3 separate regions of the Homo sapiens genome follow, and regions 1 and 2 are each linked to region 3. Evidence: promoter capture Hi-C in 16 types of primary human blood cells and fetal thymus (Javierre and others, 2016). All regions are on one chromosome and are shown on one strand. The core of a region is centred on a gene start or on the middle of the fragment in contact, and the rest is flanking DNA. Distances in the headings are between cores, read along the strand shown. Region 1 overlaps RTF1 (RTF1 homolog, Paf1/RNA polymerase II complex component). Region 2 has its middle 32 kb from the start of PLA2G4E. Region 3 holds the start of MAPKBP1 (mitogen-activated protein kinase binding protein 1).

Evidence for each region. The method cuts DNA at HindIII sites, captures the fragments that hold promoters and counts their contacts. A CHiCAGO score of 5 or more calls a contact.
Region 1: a fragment that was not itself captured here is called in contact with the fragment with the promoter of MAPKBP1 in region 3 in 1 of 17 cell types (endothelial precursors); the score reaches 6.9 in endothelial precursors.
Region 2: a fragment that was not itself captured here is called in contact with the fragment with the promoter of MAPKBP1 in region 3 in 1 of 17 cell types (endothelial precursors); the score reaches 6.7 in endothelial precursors.

The regions. Positions count from the first base shown.
Region 1 is chr15:41,469,887-41,474,490 of GRCh38, forward strand. RTF1 (RTF1 homolog, Paf1/RNA polymerase II complex component) reads left to right here. Exons shown (of 18, transcript NM_015138.5): 7 at 371-506; 8 at 1,286-1,463. Among named protein-coding and RNA genes, the nearest start is that of ITPKA, 22 kb to the right of the region's middle. The HindIII fragment of the contact is 4,459 bases long and covers 29-4,487 here.
Region 2 is chr15:42,050,842-42,055,427 of GRCh38, forward strand. No RefSeq gene overlaps it. Among named protein-coding and RNA genes, the nearest start is that of PLA2G4E, 32 kb to the left of the region's middle. The HindIII fragment of the contact is 171 bases long and covers 1,398-1,568 here.
Region 3 is chr15:41,772,807-41,777,248 of GRCh38, forward strand. MAPKBP1 (mitogen-activated protein kinase binding protein 1) reads left to right here and starts at 1,678. Exons shown (of 31, transcript NM_014994.3): 1 at 1,678-1,804; 2 at 2,361-2,583. The coding sequence starts at 2,470. RefSeq lists an enhancer at 1,125-1,174. The HindIII fragment of the contact is 7,491 bases long and covers 1-4,442 here.

The DNA.
Region 1 (4,604 bases), core at 1,008-3,507, 300 kb before region 3:
CACTCTCCTATTTTAAATTTTCCTCAGAAGCTTCTGAAGTCATCATGAGTCTTTCCCCCTCTTTCCTCCCCATAGTCAAGTGTCTTGAGTGCCATAAAAGAGAACTGTCAGTAGTGTTGGTGACCCTTTCTGCCCACCTAGTATCAATCTTCCAGCCCTTTTTTCATCTGCTGGGGCCTGACATTTGGCACCTGAATAATTTTAACTCTGTGTTTTAACTCATTTCTGTATATACCCCAAGTTAGCACAATCCAGTCTAGAGAGGACGGAGCTGTGTATTTGAGTCCTCTTCCATTTCCAGTTCTTTTTCAAGGATGAATTCATTTTCTTGTTGAGAAAACCTAGGTAAACATCTCTTCTTTCTTTCTAGCTGAGCTCCTTGCCAAAAAACAGCCATTAAAAACCAGTGAGGTCTACTCTGATGATGAAGAGGAGGAAGAGGATGACAAATCCAGTGAAAAGTCAGACCGCTCATCACGAACATCATCGTCTGATGAAGAAGAGGAGTAAGCTCTTGTACATTTTGGTCTAGTAGGCAGGATAGGTGGGTTTTTGAGGAAGAGCTTGGTATCGTTTCCAAAATCTCCCTGGTTGGGCCACTAACTCTGACATGGTTACCTTTGGTTTGCTGAACTGAGTTCCCCAGCACGTCAGCCCATTCATTTGGCTGCTAGCCTGTACGCTTAGACATTTCACCTGGGCCTGGAAGGTAGGAACTGACTTCGTGTCATTCTCAGATTGGCCTGGAGCTTTCATTCATTTTCTTTTTTTTTTTTTTTTTTTTTTTTTTGAGACGGAGTCTCGCTCTGTCGCCCAGGCTGGAGTGCAGTGGCAGGATCTCGGCTCACTGCAAGCTCCGCCTCCCGGGTTCACGCCATTCTCTTGCCTCAGCCTCCCAAGTAGCTGGGACTATAGGCGCCCGCCACTACGCCCGGCTAATTTTTTGTATTTTTAATAGAGACAGGGTTTCACTGTTTTAGCCGGGATGGTCTCGATCTCCTGACCTCGTGATCCGCCCGCCTCGGCCTCCCAAAGTGCTGGGATTACAGGCTCATTCATTTTCTTACTCTGATGGGTTATCTAAGATGGCAGCCTCATTTGAAACAGCTCATACTACTGGTCAGGAACAGGATCCTATTACAAGTCTTTGCTGGTGCTTCATTTACTTCTCCTCCTAGGCCAGTCACATGTACTTTGGTTAAGTTTTGAGGAGTTGATATTATTTTTCTGTCTTGTTCTGTTTTTATGATGAACATTTTTTCCAGTGCCCCTTTGTTCCTCTTAGGAAAGAAGAGATCCCTCCCAAATCCCAACCAGTTTCCTTACCTGAAGAATTGAATCGGGTTCGATTATCACGGCATAAGCTAGAACGCTGGTGTCACATGCCCTTCTTTGCTAAAACTGTCACAGGATGTTTTGTGCGGATTGGCATCGGAAACCACAACAGCAAACCAGTTTACCGGGTTGGTATTTCTTCCCTTGGACAATTGTCCATGCTTTCAGTATAATTAGTCTCAACTGAGGGCAGGAGCTACTGAAAAAATCGATCACTCTTCTCTCAGCATTTGATGGAAAGTAGACTCCAAGTGGGATCCCCATAGAGCAGTGAGGTGCCCAGGAATCCTTCATGACTTGTTGCCAAGAGGAGGACTTGGAGCCCAAGGGCCTGGAAGATTTGGATGTAGAATAATTTTCTCTATTCTCCCTTCAGTATAAAAGGGAGAAGGGAGGCATCTATGAAGTGTTCATTGGGAGTTACATAATCTAAAAGATTTGTTCATTTGAAAAACCAATGAATGAAAAGTTTCATGTTGCATACCAAGTGACTTCTACACCAGGGAATTGTATTGAGGTTAAAAAAAACCCTCCAGACTAATACAGGTTATTATGTAGGTTCCAGCACTGCTTCTGTGGTCTAGGTGGACTGGGCACAGTGGCTTACTCCTGTAATCCCAACACTTTGGGATTTATTTATTTATTTATTTATATTTTATTTTACCATTATTATTATTTTTTTATTTTTATTTTTTGAGACGGAGTCTCATTCTGTCACCCAGGCTGGAGTGCAATGGCGTGGTCTTGGCTCACTGCAACCTCCGCCTCCCGGGTTCAAGTGATTCTCCCGCCTCAGCCTCCCAAGTAGCTGGGACTACAGGCGCATGCCACCACACCTGGCTAATTTTTGTATTTTTAGTAGAGACGGGGTTTCACCATGTTGGCGAGGCTGGTCTTGAACTCTTGACCTTGTGATCCACCTGCCTCAGCCTCCCAAAGTGCTGGCGTGAGCCACCGCACCTGGCCTATTTTTATTTTTATTTATTTGTTGTTTTTTTTTTTCAGACAGAGTTTCGCTTTTGTCGCCCAGGCTGGAGTGCAATGGCACGATCTTGGCTCACTGCAACCTCCGCCTCCTGGGTTCAAGTAATTCCCCTGCCTCAGCCTCCCGAGTAGCTAGTGTTACAGGCACCCGCCACCGTGCCTGGCTACTGTTTGTATTTTTAGTAGAGATGGGGTTTCACCATGTTGGCCAGGCTGGTCTTGAACTCCTGACCTCAGGTGATCCACCTGTCTCGGCCTCCCAAAGTGCTGGGATTATTGACATGAGCCACTGAGCCCGGCCTTATTTTTAATTTTTTGTTTTTTATTTTTGGAGACAGAGTCTTACCCCGTTGCCCAGGCTGGAGTGCAGTGGCACGCTCTTGGCTCACTGCAGCCTCTGCCTCCTGGGTTCAAGCGATTCTCATGCCTCAGCCTCCAAGTAGCTGGGACTACAGGCATGCGCCACCACGCCTGGCTGATTTTTTTTTAGACTGAGTCTCTTTTTTTTTTTTTTTAGACGGAGTCTCGCTATGTGGCCCAGGCTGGAGTTCAGTGGCACGATCTCGGCTCACTGCAAACTCTGGCTCCCAGGTTCACGCCATTCTCCTGTCTCAGCCTCCCCAGTAGCTGGGACTACAGGCGCCCGCAACCACGCCTGGTTAATTTTTTGTATTTTTAGTGGAGATGGGGTTTCACCGTGTTAGCCAGGATGGTCTTGATCTCCTAACCTCGTGATCCGCCCGCCTCGGCCTCCCAAAGTGCTGGGATTACAGGCGTGAGCCACCGCACCCGGCCTCACTTTGGGATTTAAAAAAAAATTTTTGTAGCAACAGCCTCTCTCTGTTTCTTATGCTGGTCTCAAACTCCGGGCCTCAAGTGATGTTCTGGCCTCAGCCTCCTAAAGTGCTTGGTGTTGGTTTTTTGTTTTGTTTTGTTTTGTTTTTTTGAGACGGAGTCTCGCCCTGTCATCCAGGCTGGAGTGCAGTGGCGCGATCTTGGCTTACTGCAAGCTCCCACTCCTGGGTTCACGCCATTCTCCTGCCTCAGCCTCCCGAGTAGCTGGGACTACAGGCGCCCACCACCATGCCAGCTAATTTTTTGTATTTTTAGTAGAGACGGGGTTTCACCTTGTTAGCCAGGATGGTCTCGATCTCCTGACTTCGTGATCTGCCTTCCTTGGCCTCCCAAAATGCTGGGATTACAGGTGTGAGCCACCACGCCCGGCCCAGGTGTTGGGTTTTTTTTTTTTTTTTGAGACAGTGTCTTAACCATGTTGCCCAGGCTAATCCGGAACTCCTGGACTCAAGCCATCTTCCTGCCTCGGTTTTCGAAAGTGCTAGGTTTGCAGGTATGAGACACTGTGCCCAGCCTGTTTGAGATAGGATCTCGCCCTGTTGCCCAGGCTAGCATGCAGCGGTGTGATCAGAGCTCATTGCAACCTTGAACTCCTGGACTCAAACGATCCTCCTACAACAGCCTCTTGAGTAGCTAGGACTGTAGGTGCACACCACTATGCCCAACTAATTTTTTTTTTCTTTTTTGTAGAGACTGGGTCTCGGCTGGGCGCAGTGGCTCACGCCTGTAATCCCAGTACTTTGGGAGGCAGGTGGATCACGAGGTCAGGAGATCGAGACCATCCTGGCTAACATGGTGAAACCCCTCTCTACTAAAAATACAAAAAATTAGCTTGGCGTGGTGGCATGTGCCTGTAGTCCCGGCTACTTGGGCGGCTGAGGCAGGAGAATCACTTGAACCAGGGAGGCAGAGGTTGCAGTGAGCCAAAATCATGCCATTGCACTCCAGCCTGGGCGACAGAGCAAGACTTTGTCTCAAAAACAAAAAACAAAAAAAAAGAGAGACTGGGTCTCTCTGTGTTGCTGAGGTTGGTCTCAAATTCCTGGCTTCAAGTAATCCTCCTACCTCAGCCTCCCAAAGTGCTGGAATTACAGGCCTGAACCTCGGCGCCCAGCCTGGATTGTTTTTGTTTTGTTTTATTCTTGTCTGGTTTTTATGTGTGTTATCCCCTTGTATGAGGACCTGCAGCCATGCCATATCCTGAAATGCTTGGCAACAGAAACTGACCTACATGGTCTTCACATTTGGTTGATAAAAATCAACTGGTGAAATCCCAAATACATCCCTTGTAAGTTAGAATTAGTTGGAGGAAAAGCTTCCAGTGGGCCCCATCGGGCTCCTCTTCTGCTGGCACTTTCTCCTCCTGGGCACAAGGCTCCCTGTGCTTGGCCATCTGGATTCTAAACCTGAGAAACCTTTCTCAGAACCCC
Region 2 (4,586 bases), core at 233-2,732, 280 kb after region 3:
GAAGCTAAGCCAGGATGAATTATTAAGGAGCTGAAGGAAGCCAGGGCTTAACTAAAGGAGCCCCACGTCTATCTCTGTGAATATTTCAAACCATCTGGACCTATTTTGTGGAGAGAAATTTCTTGCGCTGCCTGAAAGACAAGCAGGGAGCTAGCATTATGCTCACATAGGACAGTTCTCCGTCAAGGGAGGCCTGCGTTTCAGGGCTGGGATCCACGCTCAGAGAAAGCTTCTTAGTGCTGCAGAGCTATTTTTAAAGTGCGAAACTCAATATGTCAGTGGGAGAGGGAGGGAGAGAGGGCTGGGGGTGAAATGGCTGAGGCCATCCAGGCCCCTGAAGGAGCCTCACTTTCCTGGGTGGGTGAAGCCACTCATTTGGGTCTTGCCTGACACCCCCAGATCTCTATTTTAACCCCTGAAAATAAATACCTAGCCTTGTGTTCAGAGCTGATGGTGGGGCCACAGGCCAGAATAGAATTTAATCATTTACTCTGGCTCTCTTTGGTTTAATAGATGCCATATCTGGCAGCTTAACGGGGATGTGTCCTAGTTCCATGTTAAAAACAAAAATTAAAAAAAAATTAAGAACGCTTCTTTATGTTCTGTTTACAACTGTTTTTAACATACATTTGAAATGTTCATCTTCCTGTCTTTCTGTGTGCTGGCTCTGAGGCACCCAGCATCCTCTCTAGTTGGGAGTATCCCGCTGTCCCCCTCTCTTTCTGAGGCTGTGGTTTTCCAGTGGGTGTCTCTGGCCCAAATAGCCCTATCAGAAATGAAGCAACAGGCTGGGTGCAGTGGCTCATGCCTATAATCCCAGCACTTTGGGAGGCCACGGCGAGTGGATCGCTTGAACCCAGGACTTTGAGACCAGTCTGGGCAACTTAGCGAAATCCTGACTCTACTAAAAACACAAAAATTAGCTGGGCATGGCGATGCGTGCCTGTAGTCCCAGCTACTTGGGAGGCTGAGGTGAGAGGATCGCTTGAGCCCAAGAGGTTGAAGTTGCAGTGAGCTGAGATTGTGCCTCTGCACTCCAGCCTGGGCTACAGAACAAGACCCTGTCTCAATCAATCAATAAACCAAGCAACAGCCAGACCCACACTTAGACTGACCAGTCATGTGTTTGGGTAGGAGACGGTTATAAAGTGTCATTTTTCCGTTTGTGCTATATAGGAAAAAATAGCTTGAATGGCAGTGCTAATAAGGATAAAAGGAGTTGACATTCGTCAAGCACACACTTGGTTCCCTTACAAAGCAAAGGCAGTTTGGAATAAAACAATAAAAAGTAAACTTTGAAATAAAATAAATGGAAAATGCATTGTAAAAATATCAGTTTGGAATTGACTTGAAGAGTTGCCAGATCTCTTCCCTGCACCACATTTCACAGTTTACAAAGCTTGTTGGTTTACGTTTTCCATTTCTTAGGGGCCTTGTTCTGGAGGTCTTTACTAGAAGCCAGTGCCGGCAAGTGACTGGGGAAAAGGCAACTCTTCATGGAGGGAGTGTGCAGATGCCAGACATGGCTATAATATTTTACTTTTTATTTTGCCACAAGGGAGAAAGGAAGCTTGACATTGGAAGAAAAAAAGTTATGTGGATGGAGATATGTAGATACAAAGGTGTTTGAAATCAAGCTTCCTTGAAGTCAAAGAGAAAGTTATGTGTTAAGACCCAGAATAATTTCTGATTCAAGGTGAAGTTTTAGAATGTGAGAGGGAGACCTGGATTAGACTAAATATTGATAGGTGATGGTTTATTGTGCAATTAAAAAAAACACAAATTATCAGTTCTTTATCCAGTTTCCAGTGAGAATTACGTTCGTGAATAATCGGTGCAAAATAAAACCAACACCAGCTAATATTTCACGTGGTAAACTTTGAAAGAATCGTATCTTGGGGATAAAAAACCAACCTGGCAAAAAAAAAAAAAAAACCCAAAAACAAACAAACAAACAAAAAAACAAAATTAGACTTGCTAAGCAATAGTAGCCACAAAAGAAAATATACGAAGGTCAAGCTATAATGGAAAACTAGTGAGGATTAGTGAGTGGAATAACCAAGTGTACCTCGGTATTCTCATTTTTCTACATCTTACCTTGATTGTAATTTAAAAAATAAATACAGAGATCAGAATGGGGTCGTTCAAGATTTCTTTTGGTAGATGTGTTTTGTGCTTAGTCAAGGTGAAAGGATGCCCAGGCACTGCCACTCAGAGGTCTCTGCCCTGTCCGGGGCATCTGGGGGGCACCTGGAAGAGGTCTCTTCCTCATAGCTCTGCCCACCCCACTGTGCAGGTGAGACCCAGAATGGACGCTGCTTTGAGGCAGCTGACCAGTGGGATCTGACCTGGAGCAGCTGGTGGTGGCCAGGGCTGAGAGCCAGGATGAGTGTGGAGGTGGTAGCACGCTGGAGAGTGAGCAGAGAGGGCAGCTTCGCTGGTAGACTGTGTGTGGGGCCCAGGCAGGGAGGAGCCAGGCTTCCTTTCCCTGTTCTTGGGACATCCTCTCTCCTGTTCTTTCTTCCTGCCCTTGAAGACCCTCCTGTTGCTTGGGTTATTTTTCTCTCCCGTGGTCTGACTCCAGGACTTCTCCAAGCCAGGAACTATGGTGACAGATAGACAGGCAGACAGGGTGAGAAAGGGGACCCTCTCTGCAGACCCTCAGGAACTTAGTGCCAGGGGAGGGGGCTCTGAAGTCAAGCTTCCTTGAAGTCAAAGAGAAAGTTATGTGTAAGACCCAGAATAACTTCTGATTCGAGGTAAACTTTTAGAATTTGAGAGGGAGACCTGGATTAGACTAAATATTGATAGGTGATGGTTTATTGTGCAATTGAAAAAAACACAAATTATCAGTTCTTTATCCAGTTTCCAGTGAGAATTACTTTTGTGAATAATCAATGCAAAATAAAACCAACACCAGCTCACATTTCACATGGTAAACTTTGAAAGAATCATATCTTGGGGATAAAAAAAGCAATCTGGCAAAAAAAAAATTAGACTTGGGCACAGGGGCAGGAGCAGAGACGAGCCCTCATGTCATTTCCAGATTGGTGTCAGGGAGTATCTGAATGTTTATCCTTTTAAAATGTTTCTAGGGGATGTCTCCAGGCCTTGTTGAGCTTAGTCTCCTGTAAAATTCACCTCCTACAAATTAAAAATAAAAGCCAAACAAAGAATTTTAACCTCAGCTGAAATAACAGCTCCAACAAACATTCTTGCACTGAGCACCATGTGCCCGGAATCCCTCAAGGGCACCTGGCCACTGGTCCTGCCAAATTCCCCACTTCCCTGCCCAGCCAGGCCCTGGGTGGCCCCACAGTTGGCCACTCCTAGAATAGGCTCCACAGGACTATGTGTATTTTTTGTATTTGTTAGTTTTTTTTTCTTATTCAATTCCTAAAATGGAAGATCTACAGGTGGATAGAACGCTCACTAAGTAAGTCCTCAGCTTCCAAAACCTAGAGGCACACTATTACCCTACACATTTAGTTAAGGGAAAATGGAAAGGAGAAAAGGAGGGAGGGAAGGAGGAGACAGAGGAAAGAAAGAAAAGCAAGGCAAGGCCTGGAAAGATTTGCAGAAGTAATGACAGCTTTTTTCTTTTTTTTTTGGAGACATAGTCTCACTGTGTCACCCAGGCTGGAGTACAGTGGCATGATCTCAACTCACTGCAACCTCCAGGTGCCAGAGATTCTCCTACCTCAGGATCCCGAGTAGCTGGGATTACAGGCACATTTTTATATTTTTAGTAGAGATGGGGTTTTGCCATGTTGGCCAAGCTGGTCTCGAACTCCTGACCTCAAGTGATCCGCCTGCCTGCACCTCCCAAAGTGTTGGGATCACAGGCGTGAGCCACCGCACCTGACCAGTAACGACAGCTTTTAATGGTGAAAAACAGAACAAGCTGAGAAGGCTACAGTGAGGACTGGAATGTTGGGCTCTGATGTGTGGCTTTGATGTGTATATGTTTGAGCTTCTCCCTTTTTTACATCCCTGGGGAAATTTTAACTTCATTCTGTTAAGCTTAAATGCTTTTATGAGAAGTATCCTAATTTAATAAAGTCTTATCTAGAAAACGTTTTATGAAAAATACCTAAGATGTAGAATAGGGAGTAGAATAGAATCTGGTGGGTAAAAGTGGGCTGTATACATAAGTTTAAAGAAAAGAAAAAGAGAAAAATGTATTTTCTGGAGCAAATTCAATTAAGCCAATTTAATTTCTTGATCTTCTTGATTATTTTTAATAGAATAATACTTAGCAATTTCCAGTTTTGCTGCTTATCTTCGTTGGGACCAAGTCTTTTCCACACACCATGAAATCATACCCTTTATGATGGGTTTTACCTTTTCTTTGTGGCCGCTATCTCTTTACAAGTCTAATTTTTGCCAGGACAATTTTTTTATTCTTAAGATGTGGTTCTCTAAAAGTTTATCATGTGAAATTTTGGTTGGTTTCATTTTGCATTGGTTATTCACAAAAGTAATGTTCATTGCATTGGATAAAGGACTGATTATTTGTTTTTATTTTTTATTGCAAAAAGAAAACATAAAGAAAAGGCATTTTCCATGGTATGGTTAAAATGTCA
Region 3 (4,442 bases), core at 428-2,927:
CACCAGAATGATCTGGAGAGGATTAGGGACGGCTCTTGTGGGCACATTTTTACTCTAGTTTCATGGGTGGAGATGGCATCTGCCGTGGTCTGCAGCATGCAAGTAAAGACACCAGGTGGCACCATTTATTAGCTTTCAATCCCATGGAGAGGTCCCATCATGTAACTACCAAGAGGTTGAAGGAACCAACTACCTCTTGCATATTGTAGCTAATGGTTCTTGCCTTCTTCTTCCAGACTTGGGAAATAAATTTGAAAATCGTATTTTCTGTTTCATAATATTTGCAGTGCATGGTTGAAGGGAAGAAGGCCACGTGCTATTGCCAGTTGGTCTCCAGGAGGTGACATCCATCATCTCCATGTCAACTTGTGAGCTTTACAAATCTAATTTTCAGTACGTGGCTACAGTATACACAAGAAAATATGTGCTTTGCCACTTGGCTCTAAAGGCTCACCGTTGTACACAAGCAATGAGTTTAGGGGTTCTTCCCTCTTGTTATCACATGTCATCTCCACAGGGTTTCAAAAGATCTGGATAGGGTGAGACAGACACACCAGTGTAGTACTCCCTTGGGTCCCTTGTCTTTGGCTTAGGCTTTTTCATAAGGTATAATAATTTGTTAGAGGTTCTTCCCTCTTGCAGACACATGTCATCTCCACAGGGATTCAAAAGATCTGGATAGGGTGAGACGGACACACCAGTGTACTATTCCCTTGGGACCCAAGTCTCTGGCTTAGGCTTTTTCATAAGGTGATTTCTTGTGGTAGTAGTCAAGTGGAGAATACTCAGGAAATACTATTTCATGTAACATTTCCGTGTATTCCCTCTGCCTCCCCCGACATGAGTTAGAAAACTACCCCTCGATCTAGTATCAGCAAGCTCGACAGTGACCTCAGCAAGGAACAGCCCTAGATAAAAGGATTCATAAGTAAATGGAATGAGGAAAAGATCTGGAGCAACAAAGTCCTGGTCAGCTTTAGGTGAGGAAGCACAATGGGATGTTGGAGGCTAAAGAAGCCATGAAACCTAAAGTATTATAACATAGCATATTCACTTCTCTTTCCCCCGCACGCCCAAAGCTCTGTTCAAGGCCACCCTTTCCCCTTTCATGATGACCAGGTTGCCCAGTGCAAAAATACTGTTCTTAGCTATTAAATTGCATTACTCAGAATAATCCTTTCCACGTTGAGTCTACGTGCCGGACTGGCTGCGAGCAGAAACTACTTCAGTCGCTTTAAATCTCAACACTTGTGGTCGCTGGGAGCAGAGCTTTTAGGCTGTAGCTCAGTCTTGTAATTCTGAGCTAGGAGTTTCAGCTACGGTCCCTCGGGCCTATCAGATGACAACCTTAACACCCTGGAGGCGTGGTTATCGTCTTGGGGCTCTGGGAAGTGCAGTTCCATGGGGGACCAGGCCTGATAATACCATAAAAGGCTTGGTTCTCTCAATTCTGAAGCCATGTTCTGTTGACCTTCCTCTAAAAGCGGTACCCGCAATTGTGCGGATTCCGTGGTTCCCTAGTCCCAAGCCGTCTGCTTCCTGGGCCCTTTCATTGGCTCCGCCCCCGTAAACCTTGCTCGTCCACTCTGGAAGCGCTCTCCTGACTACAGGCCGCGCCCCTCGCGTCGGCTCCGCCCACCCAGCCCGCGGCTTGGCCCAGGCGGTAGTTCGCGTTTTGAGCCGATCGTGCCACCATAGCTCCTGCTGCTGCCTCTACCGCTGCGGCTACCGCGGCGGAGCTGAAATTGCCGAACGCGATGCCCGAGGGCGCTGTGAGCGGGGTGGCCTTAGCTCGCCGAGGCTGGTGAGGCTGGGCCCGAACGGGGGCGCTGACGAGTAGCAGGGGCCTCAGAGGCGGGTGAAAGATAAAGGTCCAGAGCCGCTGTGGAGGGCGGAGAGCGAGCTCTGGAGGATAGGGAGTGGGGGAGGGAGGCTCCCGTGGCAGAACGAGTTGTGGGCTACGGCGAGCCCCGCCGCGTCCCCGCCGGCGCTAGCGCAGGTGTCCAGGCCTGCGGAAATCCCTGGTGGTCTCGGCGGCCTCCTCCCTTGGACACTACAGTTGCCATGGGAACAGTTGGGCATTAACGGGAACCAGATCGTCCACGAGACCAACTGGGGCCCATCCCATCCATCTCGCCAGTTAAACGCCTCTGGCGGGCGTGGGCCTGGCATTTCTTCGTGGCTTAGGATTTTCCCCCCCTTTTTCGTGAGCCTTTCCTTCCGACGTTGTAAGAAACTGTGCAGGGCTAGAAGGTGGGGATGAGGGAAATGGTGAGAGCAATACCCAGAGGTAAAAGCTGCAGACTTCGCTAGGCAGAAGGTAAGACACTGTGATACTAAGGTGGCTTCTGCCATCTCAGGTCAGTGAGAGGGCATACTGGGAAGCCCTCTGGAGTGGGAAGACAGTGCCGCTGTTGAGACAAGACCCAGGACTGGGCCGGGGACTGTCCCAAAGGGTTTCTCGTCATAATGGCTGTGGAAGGGTCAACCATTACCAGCCGGATCAAGAATCTGTTGAGATCTCCATCCATCAAACTGCGCAGGAGTAAGGCAGGAAACCGACGAGAGGACCTCAGCTCCAAGGTGAGTCCTGTTGGGATCCACCTCTTTCCAAACCCACCCTCTCCTGCTCCATGTTCCTCGTTAACCTTCCTGTTTCTTGGGAAAGATAACTAGAAGCCCTTGTTGACTCTAAAGGATCACATATGATCTCTGCAGGCAATGATTTGGTTTTAGGTTGAAGGAAAAAGAGCAGCAGGGGTGGGCATGCTGAGATTCATCCATGAGAAAAGGTGAATAGTAGGAAGACCACCTGGGTTCAATTGTGGCCTCACTATACACTAAGCATGTGCTTGGGAAGCCAGTTGATATGCTATGACTCAGTTTCCCTTCTTGGGAGAGGACAGTAGGAACACATACCTTGTGAAGGGCTAAGCTGTGACTAATGTAGCTGCAGGTGTTAACGTAACAGCTGGGGTTATGTAAGACTGTAGTGGCAGAAAGAAATATGCTAAAACACCTAGTCAGAGTTACTGGCTTGGTAATTGCTCTTGCCTACGGTGAAAACAAATTTTTTTTGTCTCTTCAAGAGGCTAACTGGAGCCTTTTGGCTTCTTAGGAATAACATGCAAGAAGCCAGATATCTGTCAGCAAAACAGTTCTGGATGGCCCTTGAGCATTGCTTATCTCATTCACTATATGCCAAGAGCCACATCCCACTCAGCTGCAGATGATCCTCAGAGGCAAAGTTCCTTTCCATCGCTTCACTTGTCTGTGTTTTGGTCCTTATGCTTTTTCAACTAAATAAACCCCACAACTTTGGGAATCCAGAAGTAGTCGACATTTATTTAATCCCTTGAGGGAATCCAGGGCTTTACTCCCACAGGATCAGATCAGATTTTGTGTCTTATTAGTAGCCTGTAAACCCAATAGGGTTGTGAGGTACAAGGTTGTTACAGGGAGAGGCATTTGAGACCACAGCATTGTATTGCTTTGCCTGTATCTCTTCAGTGATGAGTAAATCCCATGAGGAATGATTTAGAATGCCACTGTACAAATGGCAGGGTTCTGGGAGGACTTAGTTCAGCCCTGTGTTCCTTAGCAGAACTTTGAGTAGATTTGGTAAGAAGGTGAAGAGCTTTCCTGTATATTTCAGCAGAAGTTGTGTTGAATCACAGTTTGCTACAAGGTTTTGTGATGGTGGACATTGTGACCCTTCCAAGGTCTCTTATTCATCATTGTTTCTATTCTCCTGAGGCAGGCAAAGAAGCCTGAAATGTAGAAATTGCCTTAGATATGACTCTGTTCATTCTTAATACTGCAAGTGCTCTTATTCTTGGCTGGTAGCTTGGCAGTGACCAGCACTGTTAGAGCAATCTTCTCCAATCTTTGGCCTCTTTTTCTGGCCAGGAATGATATATGTAGTAGAAACATATAATGAGAGTTTAGCCTTCATTGTTAATTCTTACTGTAATTTTGGTCTGGAATCCAGAAAGTATAGTTGCCATTCTTTAAGACTTCCAATATCATCCATTATTAATGCATTTAACAAGTGTTTATTGAGTGCCTATGAAGTGTGCAATCAGTGATGGGTAAAACATTACCCTTGCCATCAAAGAGCTTATGGCTAGTCAGACATGTAAACAATTAAAACACGGTGTGGTAAGTGCTGCTGTAGAAGTATGTGTACGTTGTTAATGGAAGCACAGGGGAGGCGACCTAAGTCAGTTCAGAGGAATTAGGAAAGGCTTCACAGGCCAGGCATGGTGGCTCACCCCTGTAATCCCAGCACTTTGGGAGGCCAAGGCGGATGGATCACTAGGTCAGGAGTTCGAAACCAGCCTGGTCAAGATGGTGAAACCTCATCTCTACTAAAAATACAAAAATTAGCCGGGCGTGGTGGTGCATGTCTGTAATCCCAGCTACTCGGGAGGCTGAGGCAG